Regions from separate parts of the Homo sapiens genome. Here all the other regions are linked to region 2. Evidence: promoter capture Hi-C in 16 types of primary human blood cells and fetal thymus (Javierre and others, 2016). All regions are on one chromosome and are shown on one strand. Each heading gives the region's core, a stretch centred on a gene start or on the middle of the fragment in contact. The rest is flanking DNA. Distances are from core to core; before and after follow the strand shown. Region 1 overlaps TUBB6 (tubulin beta 6 class V). Region 2 holds the start of CEP76 (centrosomal protein 76). Region 3 has its middle 74 kb from the start of LDLRAD4. Region 4 overlaps AFG3L2 (AFG3 like matrix AAA peptidase subunit 2). Region 5 overlaps CEP192 (centrosomal protein 192). Region 6 overlaps CEP192 (centrosomal protein 192). Region 7 has its middle 58 kb from the start of LDLRAD4.

Region 1 (3,102 bases), core at 85-2,584, 390 kb after region 2:
TGGTTTTTGTGCACTGGCTAAAGCCTTCAGAACATGGAATAATTGTAGAGACAATGGACATCTGTTTCTTATACCTAATTCTGCTGGAAATGCTTCTGTTTCACCAGGGAGTGTAATGTTGCTATGGGTTTCTGGTAGATAATCTGTAAATAAAGGAAGTTTCTTTCTACTTCCAGCTTACATAGAAGTTTTTTTGTCCTCTACAAATCAGGAACACATCCAAAACTTTATCTTTTTTTTTTTTTTTTTGAGATAGAATTTCACTCTTGTTGCCCAGGCTGGAGTGCAATGGTGCGATCTTGGTTCACCCCAACCTCCGCCTGCTGGGTTCAAGTGATTCTCCTGCCTCAGCCTCCCGAGTAGCTGGGATTACAGGCATGTGCCACCACACTGGGCTAATTTTGTATTTTTAGTAGAGATGGGGTTTCTCCATGTTGGTCAGGCTGGTCTCAAACTCCCGACCTCAGGTGATCCGCCCGCCTTGGCCTCCCAAAGTGCTGGGATTACAGGCGTTAGCTACTGCTCCTGGCTTCCAAAACTTTAATCTTTTTTAAAAAATTGTTTCCTGCTGGGAGTCAGAAAAAAAACCCACTTTTTTGGGTCATCTATTAAGATGTTGTCTTTAATCTATTAGTAGACTTCTTAATGTTGAACCATCCTTGCATTCCTGGGATGTTGCTAGTATTTCTCAAACACTTATTTTGTACTAGACATTCTAAGTGTTTATTTAATCCTTACATCTCACTAAGAGGTAGACAGTCCCACTTGTGATGAGGAAATTAAGTCACAAGTAAGTTAAATAAGTCTAAGGCCACATAGTGAGTGGAAGGGCCAAAATTTAAACCCAGGGAGTCTGGCAGCACAGCCAGACTCCTAACCATTACACTGTCTGCCTCTCAGTCTTACTTGGTCACAATGTGCTATTAATATATTTTTTAAAAAACACAACTACATTTGATATTCTAAGTATTTTATTTTGGATTTTTGCATCTATATTTTTAAGTAAGTTTGATATACAGCTTTCACTTGTATGTTCTAGTAGAAGCTACCTAGCCTCATAGGAAATGTTGGGAAGTTTTCCATCATTTTCTCTCTGGAATGGTTTGGATAATGGGATTGTCTGTTACCCTCTATTAAACTATCTCTTCCTGGTGCCTTTTGAGAAAGGGGTTAGAATGTAGATTTTTCATGATGTATTTGATTCCTACACCATAGTGCTTTTAAGCCAGAATCAGTCTTCAAATTCTTCACATTTTCTTGGAAGACACTGCTTTTCACAGGTATTGGAAATATGTTTGATTGAGTGAGGAATTTTTTTTTTTAGCAATAATGTCAATAGATATGTGGTCTCTAACATTAAAATAGGTGGGAAACTTCCAAATCTGCCACCTATCCTGTAGGTTCTACTTGATAACACTAATGGTACCACTTCATGTAATTTTATATAATTTTCTTCAGAAGTCTGCAGAAAGATATGTTTTACTATCATTTTTTAGGTGGAAGAAGCAAGAAAAAAAGGATTTACCTAATTCTGATAAAACCAATATAGGAACCAAAAACAAATGGCAAAATAACTTTATAATGATGGGGAAAAAGAAGCTAATGTCTAAAATTGTTTCTTGGTTTTTGTTTTTTTGTTTTTTGCTATTTTTGAGATGGAGTCTCGCTCTGTCACCCAGGTTGGAGTGCAGTAGTGCAATCTCAGCTCACTGCAACCTCTACCTCCCGGGTTCCAGCGATTCTCCTGCCTCAGCCTCCCGAGTAGCTGGGACTACAGGCACGTGCCACCATGCCCGGCTAATTTTTTGTATTTTTAGTAGAGACAGGGTTTCACCGTGTCAGCCAGGATGGTCTTGATCTCCTGACCTCGTGATCCGCTCGTCTTGGCCTCCCAAAGTGGTGGGATTACAGGCATGAGCCACCGCGCCTGGCTTGATTTTTGTTTTTTAATCAAGAACTACCAGTAGAAGAATTTCATTTAGAGATATAGAGGTTCCTTCCCACCAAAAAAGTCAAGATTTAAAAAAAACTGTTCCTTGTGATGAACCCAGCTAGGGATGGGAGGGGTGGGGCTGGGAACCACTGATTTCCATTCACACTTTTTCTATGACACATGATGCTTTAAATCTGGCATATAAAATATTTGATTTAAAAAAATAAAAGAAGAAGAAGAAAGTGAGAAAGATGGAACCTACCAAAGATGAAGTTGTCAGGCCGGAAAAGCTGCCCAAAAGGCCCAGACCGCACGCTGTCCATGGTGCCTGGCTCTAAGTCCACCAGGGCGGCCCTGGGCACATATTTCTGAGCTGGAGGAGAAAAGAACCACCCACAAGAGTTACTTTCAGGTTTCTAAAGTAATTGACTTCCCCGTTTCAAGTCCCACCAGTTCTAGCTGCCTGGAATGGATCAACCAGGGTCTTTTCAGAAAGGGTACAGGAACTTTCTTAGAATCACAGAATTGGCTGGGCGCACTGGCTCATCCCTGTAATCTCAGCACATTGGGAGGCTGAGGTGGGCAGATCGCTTGAGCCCAGGAGTTCAAGACCAGCCTGGGCAACAGAGCAAAACCCTGTTTCTAAAAACAAACAAACAAAAAACCAAGAAAATTAGCTAAGTGTGGTAGTGTGCACCTCTAGTCCTAGCTACTCTGGAAGCTGAGGTGGCAGGATCATCTGAACCCAGGAGGTCAAGACTGCAGTGAGCCATGGTTATGCCACTGTACTCCAGAGTGAGACCTTGTCTTTTTTTTTTTTTTTTTGCGATGGAGTCTCGCTCTGTTGCCCAGGCTGGAATGCAGTGGTGTGATCTCGGCTCACTGCAAGCTCCGCCTCCTGGGTTCATGCCATTCTCCTGCCTCAGCCTCCCAAGTAGCTGGGACCACAGGTGCCCACCACCACGCCCGGCTAATTTTTTTTGTATTTTCAGTAGAGATGGGGTTTCACCGTGTTAGCCAGGATGGTCTCGATCTCCTGACCTTGTGATCTGCCCACCTCGGCCTCCCAAAGTGCTGGGATTACAGGGGTGAGCCACCGTGCCTGGCCGAAACCCTGTCTCTTAAAAAAAAGAAAGAAAAAAAATCCTAGAACCTTAACACTGGAATGA
Region 2 (2,804 bases), core at 2-2,501:
GGTTCACAGGGCCTACAGCCTATTCTCTCTCAATGTGTCATTCCAAATTCTTGGCAGTCTTCAAGTCCCCCTGCTTACTGACTCTGTTTTAGACATCCATCTTTCTGAAACGCCTACTTTCCCCTACTCCCAGCCCACGGGCCCTCCATCTTTTGCATACTACTTTCTCTATAAAGCCTTTCTTAACAAGCCATCTGTCCCTCCCCTCCCAATTATCTCAGGACCTTTCTATACCCTTTCAAGCTTCTAGCCTAGCATTTATTGCTCTTAGATTACATGTTTCCAACTACAGTGTAAATTCTTTGAGGGCACGCACCTAGTCTTATTCTAATACTCGCACATAACAGACTTTATTAAAACAATGAATGAATATAAAGAGCGATAAAACTGCGCTAACTACCGGCAAGAGTTAATGTTTATTGCCCTATCAGTAGTTCTCCGGTTAACAACGATAATATGCTAGCTTAAGACTAATTCTAAAACTAGTCGTAGAAAGACTTTCTAGGATAAAACTGAAGGATGCCCTGCAAAACATAAGTACAGTGTATCTAGAACGTACGAACACATCACGTTTTACAGGAAACAGAGACTACAAATTGTAGACTTGACTACGTTTGGTTTTACAGCCGACAAAGGTTCTGTTTGGACGGCTGCCTCCGGCTACAACCTCCCTGTTTTTTCCGGCCGAAAACATGAAATAGAAACTAGTGCCCTATTTCTCCCAAGGCACCGCCAAACACCCCGCGTCGGGGTGGCGACACCGCAGGGGCCTCGGGAGGCGGCAGCCCCGAGCGCAAATGGAGACTCACCATTAGGAGGGTGAAGCCGGCAAGGTCGGGGGCCGACTCCCCGCAGGGAACGAACATGGTCGCAGTGGGGTGGCCAGCAGGGACTAACCGCGGCCCTGGCAAGAACGAGGGCAGCAAGAAGGCGGAAGCCCGAGACCCCGGAGCCTCGCGGGGCGCGGGAGGGTCCTTTGAGTCCCTGGGCGCCGGGCCCTTGAGGCCCGTCCAGCTAACTGCCGGTTCAGAGGGCGGAAAGAGGCCGCCGGGTGGCCGCGAAGAGGGGCCAGCAGCGCTTTCGGAGACCCTGGCAAGCAAGGCGATGGGGTGCGCTGAGGTCTCGGGGTGCGGGGCCCGCGGGGAGGTGGAGCGGCGGGCGGAAACGATCAGGCAGCGTGCGGGCCAGCCCCAAGCCCTGTTTGTCCGCCACTGTTTGAAAACAGTTGGCGCCGCCGCCGCCGGGGCCTCATTTCCAGGTCAGCCCCCGGCCTGACGCGGCGTTGCGTCCCCCGGGAGCTGCGCTAGGCGAACGGCTGCGGCGCTTTGTGCTCCAGTCGCTCCTAACGCTCCCTGGCCCGGCCGGGGCCGCGCAGTTAGGGCATCTGAGGCGGGGAGAAGCGGCGGGGAGACGCCGGCTGCCAGCATGTCGCTGCCTCCGGAGAAAGCCTCCGAGCTGAAGCAGCTCATCCACCAGCAGCTGAGCAAGGTGAGAGTCGCGGGTGCTGGGAGAGACCGCCGGGCCGACCCATAACCTTTCCCTCCTGCCCGGCGGCCCCGGGCCGACAGCGGCATCTGCTTGCCGGGACTGTAGCGAGGATTGTGGGGTGCGCAACGCAGAGTAGGCAGAGCTTTGAGTTTGAGGCAGGAGAGCGTCCTCGTCTCCGAGAAAGAAAACGAGCCGAGCAGGTGCTAGCAAGAGTCTGGGGCGATAGAACGAGCGGTCTTGGCGTTTTAGGACGGCCGTGAGAATGAAGCGCTTAGCGAGCGACTTCTGGAAGTCGGATCGAGTGTAAGTTGTATTTGGAGGTTTATATTCTGCTGTAAGATATCAGGTTTTTTTTCTTTCTTGAGACGGAGTCTCTCTGTTGCCCAGGCTGGAGTGCAGTGGCACGATCTCGGCTCACTGCAACCTCCGCCTCCCAGGTTTAAGCGATTCTCCGCCTCAGCCTCCCGAGTAGCTGGGATTACAGGCGCGCGCCACCACGCTCGGCTAATTTTTGTATTTTTAGTAGAGACGGTTTCACCATGTTGGTGTGGCTGGTCCCGAACTCCTGACTTCGTGATCCGGCCGCCTCGGCCTCCTAAAGTGCTGGGATTACAGGCGTGAGCCTCCGCGCCCGGCAGATATCAGGGTTTCTTTACCGCTGAAACATGTGGGTATCAGCGAAGTTGAACCAGGAGCTTCAATCAGCAATTCTCAAATAAGTCATGGAAGAGAAGTTACTAAAGGGTTTGTAATGACGGAATTTGTTAATATTTCGGAGCTCCAGAAGAACCTCCAGTTTCTGCAGCGCTCGCTCGACTGAGTGCAAGATGCTGAAGTGATAAAAGCGACCATTTATGGTGCCCTTGTGTGCCAGGCTTTGTGCTGTCTAGTATCTTTAATCCTCACAACACTATCGTGAGAGGGCACTACACTAGGTTTTTCCATTCTTATCGGTGACGAAACAGATTTATAAAGGGTAAATAAGTTGGCTTGAGGTTACACATCTACTAAGTTGAAAGCTGGTAAGATTCCCTTATCATTAGGCAGATCAAAGTATGAAAGTAATAAGATCATACTTTGATCTGCCTACTCCCAGTCCGTGTTCTTCTGATTATACTATACTCCCTCTCAGAAGATTCCTTTTGGTTGAGTGTTGTTTGTGGAGAAATGGTAACAAAGGTGCCAGATAACCAGTGGAGACTATTTCTAGAATTTGTACTCAAAAGATTCATTCTTTAAAAGCTTACCTTTGTTCCCATTCAATTGTGGTAACAATTGTGCATTTACTGTTAGCTGGAGAACCTTAAAACTTCAGA
Region 3 (2,700 bases), core at 115-2,614, 440 kb before region 2:
GCCCTCACCAGATGCAGATGCCCAGCTTTGCACTTTCCAGCCATCCAGAATTGTGAATCGAATAAACCTTTTCTCTTTATAAATTACCCAACCTCAACCTCAGGTATTCCTTCATAGCCACAAAAAATGGACTAAAACATTCACCATTTTTATTCCCAGCAGCAATGCAGGTTTCCAATTTCTCCATATCCTCAGCAAAACTTTTTTTTTTTTTAGTTTTTTTTTTTATTTTTATTTTGTATAGTGATCATCCTAATGGGCATGAGATGATATCCCACTGTGGTTTTGATTTGCATTTCCCTGGTGATTAATGATGATGTTGCACATCTTTTCATACGTTTGTGGGCAATTTGTGTATCTTATTTGGAGAAATGTCTATTAAAGTCTTTTATCTAGTTTTTAATCAGCATGTTTGTTTTTTTGTTGTTGTTGAGTTGTAGGAGTTCTTTATAAATTCTGGATATTAACGTGTTATCAGATAAATGACTGGCAAATGTGTTCTTTCATTCTGTGGGTTGCCTTTTCACCATGTTGACTGTTTCCTTTGTCACACAGAAGTTTTTAAGTTTGACATAGTCCCATTTGTCTATTTTCTGTTTTGGTGTGACAGTCAAGAAATCAACGCCAATTCCAATGCCATAAAGCTTTTTCCCCTTTCCTTTCAGGGTTTTACAGTTTGGGATCTTACATTTAGGATTTTGTCCATTTTGAGGTAACTTTTGTATATGGTATAAGGTAAGAGCCCAAATTCATTCTTTTGCATGTGGATATCCTGTTTCCCCAACAACATTTGTTGAGGAGATTATCTTTCCTCACTGTGTAGCCTTGTCAAAGATTATTTGACAATATATGTGAGGGTTTATTTCTGGACTCTATTCTGTCTTTATGCCAGTATCATACTGTTTTGATCACTATAGCTTTGCAATATGTTTTGAAATCAGAATGTGTAAGGCCTCCAGTTTTTTTTTTCCCTACAAGATTGCTTTGGCTATTTGGGGTCCTTTGAGATTTTGAGGATGGACCTGTAAGTAGAATCAGATGTCACTCCTTTGATCATGTCACATTTTATAGCAAAAGAGGGATCATCAAGGGTGGGTCTGACCTATTCAGATGAGCCCTTTGAAGCCTGGAGTTTGATGCACTCTGCTGGTCTGGAAGAAAGCAAGCCCAGTCAGCTCTTCATATCCACGGTTCCACATGCATGGATTAAACCAACTACTTACCAAAAATACAGTATTTGTGGAATGCAGAACCCGCAGATCTGGAGAGTGGATGCTGCCTCTTCCTACCCACGGGTTCTGCAGGGCCGACTGCAGGTCAGGAGAACCTGCTGATTTTGCTATCTGCACAGGTCCCAGGAACCCAGGACCAATCCCCCACAGATACCAACCAGGAAAGGACGCATCTATGTTGTGATCTGCTGAAGAAGCTGGGAAACCTCTAGGAGGAGACAGGGACTCCTGGCTGATGGCCAAGAAGAAATTGAATGCTGCCAAATACTGAATGAGTTTGGAAGAGGATTCCAAGCTGCAGATGAGAATGTAGCTGACTGACACCTCGATTTCAGCCTCCTGAGACCATGAGCAGAGAATCCGCCAGGCAGTGCTGGCTTCTGACCTACAGAACTGTGAGAAAAAGGCAGGCATTATTTTCAGCCACTGAGTTTGTGGTAGTTTTGAAACCTGACCAATTGTCCCATAAAACTGATGTTTATCATTTCTTTTGAATAAACATAGAAATTGACCCTCTCAGTCTTAAAACTTGAGAAAGTTACATTTGTCTTATCTGAGTTCCTTTCTCAGGAAACCGACCATCAGGACTCCCAGGTAGTATCAAGGAGCTGAAACTTACAAGCTCACAGCCTCTGGAGGATGAGTGGCCAGGCCCTCAACCCTCATGATTGCCTGAGCACCACCTGCTGCCTGTTGACCAACTCCTCTTCCTCATTCTTCCCTAATTACTGTTTTCCTGCATGTAGTTACATTTCTTCCCTTCTATATAAACTCCCAATTTTAGATAGTCAGAGAGACGGACTTGAGACTGAATTCCCATCTCTTCAGCTGCAGCACCCGATTAAAGCTTTCTTCCCTGCCAATACTGGTTGTCTTGATGACTGGCTTTCTGTGCTGTGAGCAGCAGGACCTAGACCAAACCCCTGGTGTTTGGGTAATCATTTGTTATGCAACAATAGAAAACTAATATAGGGGATGCAAACACAATATGCATTTGTTTATCTGTATACACTCCTCTGTCCTCTGCTAGATTTTTTTTTTTTTTTTTGGCAGGATCTTGCTGTCACCCAGACTGGATGGAGTTCAGTGGTGTGATCCTGGTTCATTGCAGCCTCCACATCCTGTATTCAATTGATACTCCTATCCCAGCCTCCCAAGTAGCTGGGACTACAGGCATGCACCACTGGGCCAGGCTAATTTTTGTATTTTTTGTAGAGATGGAGTTTTGCCGTGTTGCCCAGGTTGATCTCAAACTCCTGGCCTCAAGCAATCCACCCGCCTTGGCCTCCTGATGTGCTAGGATTACAGGCGTGAGCCACCATGCTCAGCCTCCATTTCTAATAAGAGTAAATCTGCTTTGCATACTGGTGGGCAATTTGGCTTTTCACTCAATAATATAGCTTACATTTTTATATCACAACACAAAGCTACTCATTCTATTTTACATGTGTGCGGTGTTGAGTTGCAT
Region 4 (3,082 bases), core at 472-2,971, 370 kb after region 2:
TTCTGGGTACAGAAAAAGCCCTAAGCTGATGGCTCCTGCCTAGTCTGTTTTTTTTTTTTTGAGACCGAGTCTTGCTCTGTTGCCCAGGCTGCTGGAGTGCAATGGCGCGATCTCGGCTCACTGCAACCTCTGCCTCCTGGGTTCAAGCCATTCTCCTGCCTCGGCCTCCTGAGTAGCTGGGCTTACAGGCACCCACCACTGCGCCTGGCTAATTTTTGTATTTTTAGTAGAGACGGGGTTTTGCCATTTTGGCCAGGCTGGTGTCGAACTTCGGACCTCAGGTGATCCGCCCACCTCGGCCTCCCAAAGTGCTGGGATTACAGGTGTGAGCCACTGCACTTGGCTGCCTATTCTGCTTTAATGCACATAAAAAGATACATTCTTATCACCTCAGAAAAGCAAACGTAAGATGCTGTGCACACTGAACATCTTGTTTTTTTAATTGAAGTGTGTATCTCTGAGATGTATATAGAACATACACAGCCTCCTCCTATTTTTTTTTGTTTGTTTGTTTTGAGAAGGAGTCTCGCTCTGTCGCCCAGGCTGGAGTGCAGTGGCACAATCTTGGCTCACTGCAACCTCCGCCTCCCGGGTTCAAGTGATCCTCCTGCCTCAGCCTCCCAAGTAGCTGGGACTACAGGCGCACACCACCATGCCCAGCTATTTTTTTGCATTTTTAGTAGAGACACGGTTTCACCCTGTTGGCCAGGATGGTCTTGACCTTGTGATCCACCCGCCTCGGCCTCCCAAAGTGCTAGGATTACAGGCGCGAGCTACCGCGCCCGGCCAGCTTCCTCCTCATTATAGATGGTCAGCATTCATTGTGCAGATGTGTGGAAATATGTCTAGTATGGAAATGTATCCCTTACAGATGGACATTGGTTGCTTTGATATTTTGCACATCTTACTCTAAAACTATGCAACCTTATGTATGAGACATCTTTTTCATTGGTCTTAAATCCTTTTTTGGAATGGGGTCACCTGTAAATAAAAAATTAATATTTCTGAATAGACTTTGCTGAGTAACTGTATTTAATGAAAATTGTTCATATTTCAGGTTGCTCTTCTGTTGTTAGAAAAAGAAGTATTAGATAAGAATGATATGGTTGAACTTTTGGGCCCCAGACCATTTGCGGAAAAATCTACCTATGAAGAATTTGTGGAAGGCACTGGCAGCTTGGATGAGGACACCTCACTTCCAGAAGGCCTTAAGGACTGGAACAAGGAGCGGGAAAAGGAGAAAGAGGAGCCCCCGGGTGAGAAAGTTGCCAACTAGAGGCCCAGAGGGAGGCCATCTCAGTCTGTCCACTGTGGTTTCAGCTGGTGCATTATTTCAGCTGTGGCTTTCAGAAGAATGGGAATGCTGCGCTGATTTTAGCCAGCCACTGGCCCAGCTGAAATGATGGGGAAAGGAGTCCTTAGTCCTTTCAGCCTCAGAGGTCACAGTGGGTGGCAGGTGACTTTCCGGAGGCCTTGAGGGAAATGCACACTGTCCCATAGCCTCATTGGGCTCCCAGACGTGCTGGAAAGGTTGAGCCCAGAGTGGCCGAGGCTGGACCCTGTGGCACCAAGTGGGGTCGGCTGACCGTGTGGCAGGGATCGTTGCACTGGACTCTTGGCGTGTGGGAAGGGATGCTTTCTCTTTGTCGCCCACTCTTCATTCCTGTTTCTCCTCAGTTCCCCTGTGCAGATGGGCTGTGAAATTAAATTGGAGTCTTGATAAGAACATTTTAATTTGACTTAATATTTTAAAGATTGAATCCAGATCACTTGTTGCTGTCTTAATGGAATGGTTTTCTACAGGAGCTGTAACATACTTAAAAATATGAATGTATTATGTAAATATGGCTTCTTTACATAAAAAATAAAATGTCAACACTGTACTTTTCTGAACACACATAGGGTCCCTATTTATGCTCTGGATATTTTTAGAAAACATAATGGCAAGAAATTAAATTTTCTTGCTTTTTAGAGGAGAATCCTTCAAAATCTCAGCCTCGCTGGTTCTCATTAGCTCCCACAGGAGGTTGGAACCTTCTAGAGTTATGTGTCCTGTAAAGATGCACTGAGCTCTGGATATAAAGTACATGGGTCCTGAGGGGTTAGTCATGGCCTGAATCTGTGATAACCACCCCAGTGCAGGTCCTCAAGAGGCCAGTCATGGCCAGATGTTGGCCACACCTTCTGGGTATAGAAGTTAACGTATAACTGTAGCGGGCCTGGCAGGCTGACCTGAGCCGTCACCTGGATTTTAGAGAAGGAACAGTGGAACTAAGCTGGAGTCCCCTGGGCCCTGGCTCTCTGGGGACATCTCAGGAGTGGTCTGACTGGTAAGCTGCTCCTATTGTCTATTGAAAGGGAGTTATTGGTTATGTGCTTCCAGAAAAGTGAGTCTGTAGTGTTGCAAACCTATATCAAAATTCCTTAAAAAAGATGGCATGAGGAAGATTTGCTATGTCTTCTATCAATTGCTGTTATTTGGACATGGAGGAGACACTGGCATTTTTAACTATTTACATTTTTAGCAGTCTGTTTTAGCATTATTCCAGCTTGCCTTGTGTGGTGTTGATGTTGTCGGAACAGTGGCTTTAGAATTAACACAATCTAGTGGCATCCCTGCCATGGCCCCAGGCCATGCATGCTCCACCCATGGCTACTTCCCAGCAGCCTGAGATACCCACCTGTCCCCGGCAGGCCGTGGAAGCAGCTGTTTGGACTCCACAGCTCAGCATGCCAGGAGAACAGGCGCCCCCTGCTGGACCTTTGCACCTGCAGGCATTGCCACACTGGCCACTTCCTTTCCTCATAGGGTGTTTTTGGGAGGTGCCCAATGAAGCATTGTTTCCAGGCTGAGGCTCACACAGTTGTGAGGGTGCTGGGTGTGCTTTTTACCATACAGGCAGTAGACGATTAGGAGACGCTCTCTACTCCTTATCCAACCACTGCAAGGCATGGAGCCAGCGTGGGCTGCCCTCTCACAGGCCTTGGCTGTGAGACCTCCCGGGGGACGAGAGTGGGGCCCACTGTCTGTCAGGCTTGATACAGTAAGAGTGACAAAGCCAGATAGCACCGACAACACCCA
Region 5 (2,924 bases), core at 55-2,554, 420 kb before region 2:
ATGTACGTTTCGGTTTCCAGCATCTGTCCTGAAAATCCCAGCAGTGTCGCTCTTGGGTGCACAAGAGTACACCGGGCATGAGGTTTAGAAAACAGCTTCAGTATTTCAAAGCCCTTTTCCTGGATATAACTGATAACACAAATAGTGTATGTTCTTAAATATATCTATATAGAGCAAAGGTGTGTATGTGTATCTCTATATGTTTTTATTTAAAGTCTGGGTTATTTTCCCCAAATGCATTACATTTGTTTTACCATGTCAAAGATAATGTACTTTTTAAAAAAAATCTAACCTGGCCCATGGCATTAGCTACAATTTTCTCTTGCATGTTGGTGGTCAATACTTGGATAAATATAGTACCATTTGCCTATTTAAGAGGCTTTATAACTTATGAATTAGTAAAAATAATAAAATAGCCCCAAAAAAATCTCTGGAAGAACTCATTATTAATAAATTTCATCACAGAATATAGAATTGTTCTATATTAACCTGAAAATTTAAGTATATTGTGATTAAAAATATATCATCTGCTTTAGATTTACAGATACACTGAATAAAATGGAATGCAATTTAGAAAGAACCACAACATTTAATACAGCTATAGAACACTCCCAGCAAGATGGATATATTTTAAAAAGTACTTTGTAATACTATTATTGAGAACTAATTTAATCTCTACACACACACACACACACACACACACACGGGAAAAGGTAGCAGGAAAGTCCTCTGAACCCAGTGGGGAGGTCTAGTTCAGATCCTCTCTCTAGCTAATGATAGATGTAATTGCAAAGGCACGCAGAGCAGAAATGCATCTAGGGAGCAGAGAGGCCATCAGGCTGTGCACACTCAGCCCCCAACTCCCTGCAGGCCCCATCTACATGGAAAGGGCTTAGTGGAACCTACAAATTCTAGCAACCACACTTCCTTCCTTCCTTTCAAAACATTTTTTTTTTTCAGACGGATTCTCGCTCTGTCGCCCAAGCTGGAGTGCAGTGGCACGATCTCAGCTCACTGCAACCTCTGTTTCCCTGGTTCAAGCCATTCTCCTGCCTCAACCTCCTGAGTAGCTGGGACTACAGGCATATGCCACCAGGCCCGGCTACTTTGTTTTTTTGAGACGGTGTCTCGCTCTTTTGCCAGGCTGGAGTGCAGTGGCACGATCTCGGCTCACTGCAACCTGTGCCTCCCAAGTTCAAGCGATTCTTCTGCCTCAGCCTCCTGAGTAGCTAGGATTACAGACATGCGCCACCTTGCCCAGCTAATTTTTGTATTTTTAGTAGAGACGGGGTTTCACCATGTTGGCCAGGATGGTCTTGATCTCTTGACCTCGTGATTCACCCGCCTCCGCCTCCCAAAGTGCTGGGATTACAGGCATGAGCCACCGCGCCTGGCCTGCTTTTTGCATTTTTAGTAGAGACAGGGTTTCACATGTTGGCCAGGCTGATCTTGAACTCCTGACCTCAGATGACCCGCCCGTCTTGGCCTCCCAAAATGTTGGGATCACAGGCATGGGCCACCATGCCCGGCCCAAAACATTTTTTTAAAGGAACAGTTTCCACAGAAAAAAAGCCAGTACACTAGCACATACAAGGTACCACCATTATCAAAGAAACTGAAAAAGGTAATAAAATTTGTTCCCACACATGGGTGAGAAGTCACTGCAGCTCAATGATAACTCTATTCCTTGGCTTGTCACTTTTCTAGGAACTGTCCTTCTCTCCCAAATGACATGCAGGGTCTGCCAGGATTGTGCACCTTGCACTGTGCAAGGACATGAGGGCACAGTTGAGGTGGAACCTATTAGCTACAACACCTCAGCTGGGGTTAGATGGTCATAAAATAATAGGTTAAGAGAAAGATGCTTTTGGGGACTAAGTAGAAACATAAATTCTTTTAAAAAAGATATAAGAAAGAGATGATCTCTCAGAACCCTCAAAAAAGAACCTTTACAAGAAAACCTGTTAGTAATGTTTCCTTTTCCCTATAACCTTACTTATAATCTATCATACATTCGTGTTCACCCACCTCTGCACTGAGCAAAACCCCTGTACCTTCTTGGGGGAACTCTTCTGCCTCCTTAAGCTAGAATCAGCTTACAGCCTGTAAGGAGCAGCCACTTTCCTGTGCTAGTGCTGGAGCTTTCGGAGAGCAGCCCCACCAGGCCTTCCGGTGGCCTTGGAAAAAGTGCATATTTGTAAGTAATCATCTCCTGTACCCTACAGATGACTACAATCCTATTATTGCTTTGGAAATGTGTAGTTAATGGTGTCATAGAGCACACAGTGATCTAACAAATGAAAAATGTGATTAACTAAAGGCTGGGAATTGCTTCTCAGGGCTTTAAGAACACAGATTTTGTTGCACTGCCAAGGCAAGCTAACTGCTGCTCTCATCTGGCAATTATGTATTGTGAACCTTTGTCTAAAGTCACAGTGTCTCGTGTCTGGGACAAATACAATAGCACACAATGCCGTAAGTCCCCATGACTTCAGTTCTGTGGTAAGAACTGTCACTGGGGTTCCTGTGGTATCTGCCTCTACTGTCCTGCTGCTTCTCCAAGGTCAACACAGGTCATTCTCTGTTACAAAGGAGCCAGTGTTTCCACCTTTCTTTGCGTAAAATAAAGTTTCCTATAACCCAGAGTTTAGTTCATTTAGTTAAACAGATCACAGAATTAGTGCTTTATACACATGATTTTCTTACTCATACTTTACCAAATTTACAATGAACTGCTGCTATTAAAGCTATTGCTGAAATCAGTACTATTATGCATTTACCCTGTAGTCCTATAGTGATAGTTAATATCGATGCAGACTTTCTGGAAACTCACCATAATCAGAATAACTTAAGTGTCCGCCACTAATAGAGTATAAAATTATTTCATTCAAATTTATCTTCAAAGCATTAAAGTTTTAAAAGAT
Region 6 (2,700 bases), core at 151-2,650, 390 kb before region 2:
AAAATAGTATTAGTGATAGGACAAATCAGCACTGTACACTGCCTGAGAAGATGCACCAAGAAAACAAACAGCATCATTCCTACCAAAAGTGTGAAAATTGAATCTGCAAACTGAAATTGCGGGATATTTTACAAAGTAACTGGCCTGGACTCCATAAAAACATCAAGGTCATTGGTAAGAAAGAGTTAGCAATTGGCCTGCAATCTATTTTCTCCTTTTTACCAGGGAATGCTCAAGAAAAAAGAAAGGTGATTTGGTGAAATCTCCCGGTGATCTTGCTAATGACAGATCTCCTAGCACACACACTAATGTCCTTATCTATGGAATGCTTTTTGCAAGATGTATCTGCTCTGTCTAGAATTATTTGCGGTAAAGAAACCTGAAGCTTCCGATTTTATGGGATGCAGTTATTTGAAAAATTACCACATAAGTTATGTAATTACCAAAGTACAAAACAGAACTTTCATGCTCAATATAGCTCTTCATTTCGGGTAAGCCATGTAGCACATGAACAATTTAGAGACCTTGTGTCAAATCTGAACAAGAGCTCAAGTATTAATGCTGCCAAAAGGACCTAGGAAGCACCACTGCCAGTCCCAGACTTCTCCAGGCTTCACCTAAAATTACTAGTAAGCTTAATTCTGGATGAAGTCTTTGATTCTGTGGATCTGATACAATAATTGAACCTTCTGTATCATCTCAGTCAGGAAAGATAAGGAAAGGCTAAGGAACTCTATTCTGAAAGAGAGTAAGCAGATAGGATAACCAAATGCATCATGTGATGTTAGATTACACTCCGGACCAGAGAGGAAGCAGCAAAGAGGAAGGTTATTTTTGTTGTTGTTTTGTCATTTAACTATAACATAAAGGACATTATTGGAACAAACAATAACATGTGGATGGAACCTGTGGACTAAATGATTGTAGTGTATTGCTATTAAATGTCCTAATTTGGATGAGTTTTCCATGGCTATGCAGGAGAGTGTTTTTTTGTTTTGTTTTGTTTTTGAGACAGAGTCTTGCTATTGCCCAGGCTGGAATGCAATGTCCCCATCTTGGCTCACTGCAAGCTCTGCCTCCTGGGTTCACACCATTCTCCTACCTCAGCCTCCCCAGTAGCTGGGACTACAGGTGCCCACCACCACGCCTGGCTAACTTTTTTTTTTGTATTTTTAGTAGAGACGGGGTTTCACTGTGTTAGCCAGGATGATCTCGATCTCCTGACCTCGTGATCCGCCTGCCTTGGCCTCCCAAAGTGCTGGGATTACATGCAAGAGCCACCATACCTGGCCGTAGGAGAGTGTTTTTAGGAAATTTAGGGCTAATTGGTTATCATGCCTGAAACTTACTCTTACGTGGTCCAGAAAAACCTTCCATACAAATAGAGGATGATAAGGTAAAGGTGGTAAACTGTTAACAACGGTGAGTCTGAGTGCAGAGTATATGGGAGTTCTCTGCACTATTTCTAAACTTTCCTGAAAGTTTGAAATTATTTCAACTTAAATTTTAAAATAAAGGTGAAATAAAAATTTTGAGACAAAATAATAATAATAGTGAAGTACAGGAAAAAAGATCAGCTTTGCTATGAATCGAATCATCCTGAAATCTGGTGAAAGATTTCTGTTCATTTATTTTACCTTGTAGATTCCAAGCTAGCTTTGGAAGAAGGCTGAAGGAATTCTCTGCTAGAAATGCAATCTCTGAATTCTCCAATTACTGAAAGTATAATTTTACACATGCTTCCATAAAAGAGCTGAACATCATTAGGTCGTTGGGGAAGATCATATACTGAAATAGAAAATAATGTTTGAAATACATGAATGTTCACACAAGCATACCACAAAGTAACAGATACATTTGTATATTTATAGCTATAGAATATTAGTTTCCTGGGTTGGGGGAGGTGACATTTGGATTAGCAGTATACCACCTGGCACAAAATTACAGTCAATTCAGCACCAGTGGCTGACAGCTCAGACTTGGAACCTGAATTTGAACTACCTTTGCCACTCATTTACTTTGTGACTTTTGGCAAGTTACTTAACCTCCCTGAACTTAGTTTCCCCAACTATAATATAGAGTAACGATCTGTATCAGGGGTTGTGAGCATTAAAATAAGAATGCCTTTGTAGATATATTCGGCAACAAACATTTATATGAAGCTTAATGTGGACATTGTTCTAATCCCTTTATATATATTAATTTAGTTAATTTTCAAAACAATTCTTTGAGATAGGTACTATTACCTCTACTGCAAAGAGGAAAAATCTGAAGCACAGAAATTAAGGGTCCATGATTTTTAAGTGGCAGTCTCATAGACATTCAATTTAAAGTAAATCTAGAAACTAGAACTATTCATTTAATTAAATATTTATAGATTAATGAAAGAGTGTTCAAGATAAACATCTCTAGATTAGGACACCCAAATTTGTATAAACAAGAAATGTTAAATTAGATAGTCTTTGAGTCATATATTTTGACATGGAAATTTTAAAAGAACACAGTAACTATAAATTTAAATTTATAACTTAAGCAAGACTCCTGACTGAAAAAGTTTAAATCAACTACAAAAATACATGCCACAAATTACACATTTTGTAAAAGCAAGATTGTTACAAATCCTTGGAATAGTAACATGCTCAAGCAAATGTTACTGAAATTCATCACATAAAAGCTTCAACTGCATTATACTCCAGGTGA
Region 7 (3,032 bases), core at 483-2,982, 460 kb before region 2:
AAAAAGAAGTTGTTAAGAAGTACTGTGACTTGCCTGAGATCCTACAACCAGTTAGTGGCAAAGCTGGGACGAAATCCTAACTCTCTCTGGGCTTCTCTTAACACCTGCAATTCCTGGTGGCTGTGGGGACCAAGCTGGAACTGATGACCTCGGTTCCAGGCAGGTGCATGGGGTCTGCGTGTGGGAGAAAGCTGCTTAAATAGCAGTGATGCCAGGGCACAAAGCCCGACAGGTGGGGGACCCAGGTCCCACCCTCAGCCCTCCCCACTGCCTCCACCTCCTGGGATGTGTGATTTAGGCAGAGCCTTCAGCGCTGCAAGGCACGGGGTGGTGCTGGCTGTCTGGGGGGTGGGAGGAAGAGGTGGAGGCGGAGAAGAGGATGGTGATGATAGATAATAGCTATCACCCAACATAAAAAATGCTTGCCTTCCAAAAGTGGGTCTCTCACTCCTGGGACTATTTGGCCAAAGGCCAAGACCCCCGTGGGAGGCAGGGAGGGGATTATTTCCCTAGGGAGAGATCTGGGCCACGTGGACTCTGCACCCCCTTCAAAGCCAGGGTTCCCACTATGACTGGACAGACAGACCTGAGTACACTGCCATGGGGAGGCTGCTTGGAGCTGAGAGGGTCAGGCTCCAAGGAAAGGCTGACTTCACGTCCCGCTGCATGGTTCCACAAAGGGGTCCCAAGGAGCCCGTGCTCACAAGGCTTCGAGGTCATCTCAGCTCTTACAGAACAGCCACGCATCCCCCGGACACCCAAGATCTATTCTTGAGACCTTTTTATGACTCAGGGTATTTGAGCCAGCAGGCAGCTCACTCTCTCTGTGATTCCCCATGCACCATGTGCCAACGGTGACATGCTGACTCCAGGGCTCCAGGTTGCCTCTGGCAACCAGCACCATGCAGAGGGTGTCACTATGAATGACAACACTGAAGGGACAGTGCCTCCCAACAAACGGAACGCACACAAACATGAAATTCAAACCCCTCGTCTCGACATGCTAAGCCCTGTCCTCATTGGTGTCTAGAATGGGGTGGTGATACCCTGAGGACAGAATGCGTGGCTCCCGTAGCTTGGAGTCCAAACACTGCTGTTCCCTGCCGCTAACCTCTGGCACCCTGCATTCTCCTCGGAAGGTACTTTTGTACACAGACCAAGAAACAGTCGGTCTAGGGGGCAGGCCAGCCATCAAGGGGGAGAGAAAAGAGGCCTAGAGGAAGGATGTAGAGACCTGGGCTCTGGTACTGGATATGCCCCCACCTCCTGTGCAACTGGAGCAGGTCACTTAATCAGACCTTCAGCTTCCTTATCTGGGAAGTGGGGATCTCATCTCACTTTGCAAGATTATTCAAGTCAAATTATCATCTCCTTAGCCAATACTGTAAGCAATGCACACTTGTTTAAGGATTTACTGCCTGGTAAGCAGCCCTTTTACTTTTTTCTCTGAGAGGATTTTAGTCCTTTAGCCATTGAAAGAGCCAACCCTGGATTACCCTTGCCAAAATAAACCACTTCCTACTCAAAAACACATCTCACTTCACACCACTGAACTGGACACTTAAAAATGGTTAGAATGGGCTGGGCGCAGTGGCTCACACCTATAATCCCAGCACTTTGGGAGGCCGAGACGGGCAGATCACGAGGTCAGGAGATCGAGACCATCCTGGCTAACATGGTGAAACCCCGTCTCTACTAAAAATACAAAAATTAGCCAGGCGCGGTGGCAGGCGCCTGTAGTCCCAGCTACTCGGGAGGCTGAGGCAGGAGAATGGCATGAACCCGGGAGGCGGAGTTTGCAGTGAGCCGAGATGTTGCCACTGCACTCCAGCCTGGGCAACAGAGCGAGACTCCGTCTCAAAAAAAGACAAAAAAACAAATGGTTAGAATGGTAAATGTATGAGGTGTATATTTTACCACCCCTGCCACACACACACATCACTTCCTATTCTCGCATCCCGCCCTGGAATATTCCTCCCATTCCTGCACTGTTGGAGTCCCCCAGCAGCTGGCTCAAGCCCTGCCCTCCGATGGTGCCTCCCCTGCCTGCATCAGGCCACAGGCCCTTCCTTCATCCCCACATTGGGACACCTCTCACCCAGTGACTGCAACAACTGGGGACCCTTTGCATCCCCAACAAGAGTGCCACCGCCAGAACGCATAGACTGGGACCCCTAGAACACTGGTCAGCAGCACTTTATGCAAGAGAGACACTCAGTGTATGTTTGGCAATTGGCCGATTTCTCTGTTCACAGTGAAGGAAGGGGATGAGGCTCAGGCCTGCGAAGGACATGACTCCTTAGAAGCAGTGGTCCTCTAGCTCTTCACCATGTGAATTTTATTCACTGCTTCCCTGTGACGCTCATATTTGTTTTCTATTGCTGTCATATAAGTCACCACAAGGAAGTGGCATCACCAACATGGTGGAATAAGACGCCTCAAGTGTCATTCCTCCCAAGACACTGACTTAACAATATATGGTCCAAAAAGTCTGCATGAGAACTCCAGAAACCATTTAAGAAGTGGCAGCACCCCAGGCAAACTCAAAGCCAGAACAGCCACTTTGAAAAAGGTAACAAAAGCCATTTTATTTCAACCCCAAAAGCCATTCCTCAAAGCAGCACAATCAGCAGAAAGCACCCCGTTCACAGCTTCTCCGTCAAGGGAAAAAGAGAAGACTGGAGCATGTGTCCAACAGTCTAATTTTCAGGGGCTGCCTGAGGCAACGGTTTTTGTCTCACTTGAATTGGATCACTGATGGAGCTGATATACTTTGGATATCCTGGGAGCCACAGAGAACAAAAGAGCTCAGTGGCTTCTTGCAGCTCCAAAGAACCTGCAATACTTCGTACAGACACCAGAGGGAGTAAGAGATTACAAGCTCCAGAAAAAGAAACCAGAAAACCCCTCTAACTGGGAAATGACATGCACACGCCCAGAGAGAACACATCCCAAAGGTTTGAGAGGCTTCTGGAATCTCCAACCCAGATGATTGGTGAAAGTTTTCCCTTTATCAAGTTAGTCCTAAAAGA

Evidence for each region. Contacts are between HindIII fragments. The CHiCAGO score rates a contact against its expected background, and 5 or more counts as called.
Region 1: a contact is called between a fragment that was not itself captured here and the fragment with the promoter of CEP76 in region 2, in 1 of 17 cell types (monocytes). The highest score is 5.0, in monocytes.
Region 3: a contact is called between a fragment that was not itself captured here and the fragment with the promoter of CEP76 in region 2, in 1 of 17 cell types (naive CD8 T cells). The highest score is 5.2, in naive CD8 T cells.
Region 4: a fragment that was not itself captured here is called in contact with the fragment with the promoter of CEP76 in region 2 in 4 of 17 cell types (monocytes, M0 macrophages, erythroblasts and 1 more); the score reaches 7.0 in monocytes.
Region 5: a contact is called between a fragment that was not itself captured here and the fragment with the promoter of CEP76 in region 2, in 1 of 17 cell types (neutrophils). The highest score is 6.1, in neutrophils.
Region 6: a contact is called between a fragment that was not itself captured here and the fragment with the promoter of CEP76 in region 2, in 1 of 17 cell types (M2 macrophages). The highest score is 5.7, in M2 macrophages.
Region 7: a fragment that was not itself captured here is called in contact with the fragment with the promoter of CEP76 in region 2 in 1 of 17 cell types (neutrophils); the score reaches 5.1 in neutrophils.

Annotation. Positions count from the first base shown.
Region 1 is chr18:12,310,147-12,313,248 of GRCh38, reverse strand. TUBB6 (tubulin beta 6 class V) reads right to left here. Exons shown (of 4, transcript NM_032525.3): 3 at 2,196-2,306. Among named protein-coding and RNA genes, the nearest start is that of TUBB6, 3.5 kb to the right of the region's middle. The HindIII fragment of the contact is 5,042 bases long and covers 1-3,102 here.
Region 2 is chr18:12,701,170-12,703,973 of GRCh38, reverse strand. CEP76 (centrosomal protein 76) reads left to right here and starts at 1,251. Exons shown (of 12, transcript NM_024899.4): 1 at 1,251-1,488. The coding sequence starts at 1,426. PSMG2 (proteasome assembly chaperone 2) reads right to left here and starts at 932. Exons shown (of 7, transcript NM_020232.5): 1 at 810-932. The coding sequence starts at 866. RefSeq lists enhancers at 1,564-1,613, 1,624-1,923, 1,209-2,106. The HindIII fragment of the contact is 2,487 bases long and covers 246-2,732 here.
Region 3 is chr18:13,143,052-13,145,751 of GRCh38, reverse strand. No RefSeq gene overlaps it. Among named protein-coding and RNA genes, the nearest start is that of LDLRAD4, 74 kb to the left of the region's middle. The HindIII fragment of the contact is 1,435 bases long and covers 647-2,081 here.
Region 4 is chr18:12,327,759-12,330,840 of GRCh38, reverse strand. It overlaps AFG3L2 (AFG3 like matrix AAA peptidase subunit 2), which reads left to right. Exons shown (of 17, transcript NM_006796.3): 17 at 1,058-1,897. The coding sequence ends at 1,276. It also overlaps a transcript of TUBB6 not described here. Among named protein-coding and RNA genes, the nearest start is that of TUBB6, 21 kb to the right of the region's middle. RefSeq lists a silencer at 2,597-2,891 and an enhancer at 2,426-3,082. The HindIII fragment of the contact is 3,564 bases long and covers 1-3,082 here.
Region 5 is chr18:13,120,614-13,123,537 of GRCh38, reverse strand. All of the region lies in intron 44 of CEP192 (centrosomal protein 192), which reads right to left. Among named protein-coding and RNA genes, the nearest start is that of LDLRAD4, 97 kb to the left of the region's middle. The HindIII fragment of the contact is 4,916 bases long and covers 1-2,924 here.
Region 6 is chr18:13,091,465-13,094,164 of GRCh38, reverse strand. CEP192 (centrosomal protein 192) reads right to left here. Exons shown (of 45, transcript NM_032142.4): 34 at 1,638-1,788. Among named protein-coding and RNA genes, the nearest start is that of CEP192, 100 kb to the right of the region's middle. The HindIII fragment of the contact is 1,528 bases long and covers 637-2,164 here.
Region 7 is chr18:13,159,514-13,162,545 of GRCh38, reverse strand. No RefSeq gene overlaps it. Among named protein-coding and RNA genes, the nearest start is that of LDLRAD4, 58 kb to the left of the region's middle. The HindIII fragment of the contact is 9,792 bases long and covers 1-3,032 here.